2 separate regions of the Homo sapiens genome follow, and region 2 is linked to region 1. The links are contacts of gene promoters, found by promoter capture Hi-C in human tissues and cell types (Jung and others, 2019). All regions are on one chromosome and are shown on one strand. The core of a region is centred on a gene start or on the middle of the fragment in contact, and the rest is flanking DNA. Distances in the headings are between cores, read along the strand shown. Region 1 holds the start of MKNK2 (MAPK interacting serine/threonine kinase 2). Region 2 holds the start of SGTA (small glutamine rich tetratricopeptide repeat co-chaperone alpha).

The links. Contacts are between HindIII fragments. The study calls those that stand out against the background at their distance.
Region 2: the fragment with the promoter of SGTA here is called in contact with the fragment with the promoter of MKNK2 in region 1 in 1 of the 25 tissues and cell types used here (dorsolateral prefrontal cortex).

Annotation. Positions count from the first base shown.
Region 1 is chr19:2,049,794-2,052,493 of GRCh38, reverse strand. MKNK2 (MAPK interacting serine/threonine kinase 2) reads left to right here and starts at 1,250. Exons shown (of 14, transcript NM_199054.3): 1 at 1,250-1,398; 2 at 1,547-1,693. The coding sequence starts at 1,643. RefSeq lists silencers at 1,076-1,615, 2,346-2,535 and enhancers at 2,106-2,165, 2,342-2,700. The HindIII fragment of the contact is 30,775 bases long and covers 1-2,700 here.
Region 2 is chr19:2,781,851-2,784,550 of GRCh38, reverse strand. SGTA (small glutamine rich tetratricopeptide repeat co-chaperone alpha) reads left to right here and starts at 1,278. Exons shown (of 12, transcript NM_003021.4): 1 at 1,278-1,318. RefSeq lists enhancers at 847-916, 2,413-2,512 and a silencer at 1,307-1,356. The HindIII fragment of the contact is 32,124 bases long and covers 1-2,700 here.

The sequences.
Region 1 (2,700 bases), core at 1-2,500:
TGTTTGTGCGTGTATGTGTTCACACGCACACACACGCACCCACATGCACAATAAGGGGGGCTGGGGGACCTGGTTTTCTGTCCCCCCATTGCCAAGAGTCAGGGCAATGCCAGGTGCTGGGCTGGGTTCTGGCTGGGAATTCCCCACAGGCTTCCCCCCAATGCCCCGGGGGTGGCTGAGGCCAGGCCTCCCAGCCCCTGTGGCCTGAGAGCTGTGGCCTTGCAGGCAGGGGCCCTCCAGCTTCAGGTCAGTGGGGCTCCAGCCCCTCTTGAGCTCAGGGCCTGGTTGGGGGATGGTGGGATGGGCTGTGCGAAGCTTCTGGAAACCCCTGCAGAAGAGGAGACCACAGTCCACCCAGCAGGGGAACCCCCACTCCTTGTGTGCCCCAGGCCCGGGGCCTGGGGAGCACTTTGAACCAGGATGCTGTGGGATGGGGGACTGGCAGCTCAGGACAGGCTGATTCTATCTAAGCCTGGTTTGGGGCCCCAGCCAAAATGGGACTGTGTTTTACTTCCTGTCCTGGCGACCATCCACCCCTTGGGCTCTTTCCCAGTGGGTCTCAGGTCCCAGTTCTCCCTGAAATGCTATTCGAGGACAGAGGAAGGGTCCTTCACAGACCTCGGTCCCCACCCTCTACTCTGGTTCCTGCCAACCACAAAGCAAACTCGGGGAGCTCAGTGCTCCCCAGGCAGGGTGGCCCAGGGGAAGAAGAAAGTAGGTGGCGGTGGCTGGTCCCCCAGCACTAGAAGGGAGTGGCTGGGACTCCAAGCGTGCTGGTGGTGCACGAGGGGGACTGCTGGAGCCAGCACTGGAGAACTGCAAGAGGGAGCCATGGCAGGTTCTAGAGCGAGGGCATGAACCAAGGGAGTCGGGGTATACTAGGCCTGGGTTGACAGGCCAAGGGAGTTGCCCTGTGTGGGGCCAGGCGGTAGGACACGGCCCAGGGCCTCGCAGGTCCCACGGGCCCCGCGAGCCTCAGGCGGCAAAAACAGGCCAGCTCCGGGCGCGCCGCAGGGTCGCTGCCTAGGTTCCGCACCGAGACCCCCGTGCGCCGCACTGCGCAGGCGTGCGCTAGCCGTTTCGGACACGCCCCACCGCCGGAGCGCGCAGCCGCACTGGGTTCCCGGAGAGCGCCCTCTTCTGGCTCCGCCCACGTCGTGCGCAGGGGGTGAGGCCGGGCGGAGCCTGCGTCGGGGGCGGGGCCAGAGCAGGTCCGGGCCTATAAAGGTGGCGGCGGCGGCGACGCGCCCGGCTCCTCTCAGCGGCGGTGGCCCAGGTAGAGGGGTCCGCGCTGGCGGCGGCGGCGGCGCTGTTCCCCGCGCGGTCCGCGGAGCGGGGTCCGGGCTGCGCGACGTGGGGCGGCGGCGGCACTGCGGCCCCGGCCCAAGCCCGACCCCGGTGAGTGCGAACCCCAGGGCGGCCCCGAGGACACCGACCCGGTAGCGGGAAACGGGCCCCGCGGAGCCCTCGCCGCCCCCGCCCGGTCCGCGCTCCTGGCAGGCCGGGCTCCGCTCACCGCCCTCCCTTTGTCTGCTCCCGCCCGCAGGGTCCCCTCCTCGGCCGCCCCCCGCCCGGCCGCCCGCCCTCGGGCCTCCCCCCGGGCCCTCGGTCCCCTCCCCCGCTGGCGGGGCCCGGACAGAAGATGGTGCAGAAGAAACCAGCCGAACTTCAGGGTTTCCACCGTTCGTTCAAGGTGAGGCCCGGGGTCGGTTTGGGGGCGCTCCGGGCTGGACCACCGGAATGGCCGGCGTGGGGGGCGCGGGGCCCGCCCCTAAGATCGGCTCCCGGGGCTCGTGCCTGGCCCCCGCCCTACACCCGGGGCTGCCCGGGCCGGCCGTGCGCTGAAGCGGGGTCGGTGTGCGAGGATGGGGGTTCAGCAGGCCACAGTCCTCTCTCCAGCCATGGCCGCCGGGTCCTTCCTCCAGGACCCCCAAGTGAGGCTGGGAGCAGGAGCCCCCTCCGGGTCAGGGCACCAGGCTGTGTGTCCCCTGCAAGCCCCCGCCGGGTATGTTCTGGGGGGTCAGCAGGCTGCAGTCCTGTCCCAGTCGCTGCATGTGGCTTATGGGGGGTGTCCCCTGCAAGCTCCAGCTGGTTGTGCCCTGGTGGGGACGGGTCAGCGGGCCACAGTCCCATTCCCACCTCCATGTGGCTTCTGGGGACTTTCTTTCAGAATCCCCAGGCCGGGCTGGTCAGGTGCACCCACCCCCAGGGGGCCTGTGCCGTGGGGGAGGGGATGGGATGTCCCCTCAGCCCTGCACTTCGCAGACACCCCAGGCCCAAGTGCTGTTTCCTGTCGGAGCGGGAAGTTTCTGCGCAGCCCGGGTGGTGACTGCTGTTGAGTGCTGGTTTCAGATGAGCAAATCTTGGGGGGGAAGGGGAGGGCAGGTGCTGGGCAGGGGCCCCGCAGGACCTGGCCCAGGGGACGCAGTGATGTCAGCCGGCCCGCCCCACCCCTCAGGCCGGGGTTATGTAATCGCTTCACTGGGCTTCCTTGGGCAGGGACCTGTTGCCCGGTAGGGAAGGCAGGACTGGAGAGAGGAAGAGAGAGTGTGAGTGTATGTGTGTGTGTTTGTGTGTGTGTGTGTCTCTGTCTTGTGTGTACACACAACGCGGTGCTCCAGGGTGGGAGGAGCAAAGAGAGACTGGGAAGAATTCCCAGGTCTGTCCAGCCAGTGCCCCAGGGCAGCACTCCACCCCTGC
Region 2 (2,700 bases), core at 29-2,528, 730 kb before region 1:
TTGTTTTTGTTTTGTTTTCTTTTGCTTTGGAGGGGCTGGAGGGAGTCTCGCTCAGTCGCCCAGGCTGGAGTGCAATGGCGCGATCTCGGCTCGCTGCAACCTCTGCCTCTCGGGTTCAAGCGATTCTCCTGTCTCAGCGTCCCGAGTAGCTGGGACTACAAATGCCCGCACCACGCCCGGCTAATTTTTGCATTTTTAGTAGATACAGGGTTTCACCGTGTTGGCCAGGCTGGTCTCGAACTCCTGACATCAAGTGATCTGCCCCCTGGCCTCCCAAAGTGCTGGGATTACAGGCGTGAGCCACCACGGCCGGCCTCACCTCCTTTATTTCTGCAAAAGAAATTAAAATAATCCACGCCATTAATCGTGCATGTATTTTGAGTAGGACGAAAATGAATTGGGAGAACATTTCTGGCAACTGTAACTTAGATGGTGATCAGTTTTCTGTCGTCCTTGGAAATGTCTCATCACATGTCTTGAGCAACACCAAGATTAATTTTACATCGGCGTTCATTTTCGCTGTTCCCTGTGCCTGGGGTCCGTTTGGACTTTCCTATCCTTGAAATCCAAATGTAAAGGATGATCTTTCCTACCCATCCCATGCGACTTAGCTCCCAGTGACAATCACACTACCTTCATTTTTTTTTTCTTAGTGTTTGCTGTGAAATTTGTTTCTCTATTTATGTACTAGTTTATTAGTTTATAGTCCGTCTACCCCAATGCAAAATAATGAGAGTAGACACTTTGCTGGTTTTTATGGCTGCTTTGCAATAAATATTGAATGAATATTAGGCACCTGCTGTCTACAAATGGCTCTATACTCACAAACGTCTCACACTGCATGAAAGAATGCATTTGTGGGTGAGTAGATGGGTGGGTGAATAAATGAACAAAGATAGTAAGCGGGTAACACTGACTCCCATTCATTGCGCAGCTGTGACGCTCTGGAGTCCAGGTGTCCAAACGCGGCTGCACCACGTGGCCGGCCCAGCACCACGTGGTCAGCTCGGCGACCGGCTGGAGTCAGCCACTGTTCCACCGTGCACCGCTTCATTCCCGCTCTAGAGGGCAAACCAGACCCGATTTCCGGCCTCCATTAGGTCGCAGAGGTCAGTTGCCCTAACAACCAGCTGGTTCCCGCCTCTACGTTGCGTCACTTCCTTCCACGCCCGCCTCCATCATTAACGCGCCTGTGCAGAAGGGAAGCAACTCCGGGCGCCTTTCTTTTGCGCAGGCGTCGCGCCCTGGGGCCGGGGCCGGGCGGCACCGCGGTGCGCAAGCGCAACCGTCGGTGGGTCGGGGATCGGTCGCCTGAGAGGTGAGTGAGGGGCACTGCGCTGAGCCTGGTGGGTCTGGGGTCTGCGGCTCGGGGCCCACGGGGCCCCAAAGCTCGTAAGAGTTTGGGGATCGTGAGGCCAGGGTCACCGCGACCCGCGGGGTCCTGTGAGTAGGCGGTGCGGAGGGGAAACTGAGGCCGGGCGCCATCGGGCAGGCCCTTCGAGCCCTGATCTCCCTTCCCCAGGCCCCAGGTCCTGGAAATGCTGGTCCGCGGCCTGGTGGCGAGGACGGCGGGAGGGGAAGGCGCCCCGCATGTAGTGAGCGCTCGCTGGGTGTTCGCTGCCGTTCCGCTCTTATTAACCGCCTGGAAACGTCGTCCCTGTGACTCAGGGACCCCCGTTTGTGGGGACTGAAGTCGGAACTCTGGTTCCAGCGCCGCCAGTCCCTACCTGGGTGACCTTGCCCAGCCTCTTGGCTTCTCGGAGCCTCAGTTTTCCCCTCTGTAAAACGGGCGTTGTTCAAAAGTCCCTGCCTAGGAGAAGGAGAGCCGCAGGGTCCAGCGGAATCTGAGAACTCCAAAGAATTAGCAGGCGTTCGTCTTATATCATGTTTAGAGTCTTCTTCTGCATATCGTGCTAGAGGTGGGGGAAATCTGGGATTCAGGACCGTCCACCACCACCTCCCACCCGCTGTGTAAACCTGGGTGAGTCGCCTTCCCTCTCTGAGCAAACTGTTCCTTCTTTCGCAAACGAGTTGTAAAAGCAGATGCCTCGGAGGGTCATTATGAGGATAAACCCACATTCAATTATTTGATCAGGTGCCTGGAACTTGATAAGAGAGAGCTGGCTTGAGAATAGCTGTTTTTGTTATTAGGTGCCAGAAAATTGCAGTGTAGTGTGCCCTTCAGAGGTTGAATGATTGTCCCATTTTCTTTTGTTTCTGTCTCTGATTATTCCTTTTGTCTGCCTTTTCCCTCCCTTGACCAGTGGTTCTCAACCAGGAACAATTCTGTGCCCCAGGGATTCTTGGTGACATTTGTGCTTGTCATGATTTGGGGGACCCCCTGGTTTGGAGTTGGTGGAGGCCAGGGTTGCTGCTCGGCACCCTGCAGTACCCAGGACGGCCTCACCCCAGAAAATGATCCAGCTTTAAATGTCAATAATGCTTTAAAAACCCTACCATACGGGCTGATGACCTGAGGTCAGGAGTTCAAGACCAGCCTAGCCAACGTGGTGAAACCCCGTCTCTACTGAAAATATGAAAATTAGCTGGGCATGGTGGTGTGCACCTGTAATCCCAGCTACTCAGGAGGCTGAGGCAGGAGAATCCCTTGAACCCAGGAGGCAGAGGTTGCAGTGACCCAACATCATGCCACTGCACTCCAGCCTGGGCGACAGAGCGAGACCCTGTCAAAAATAAAAA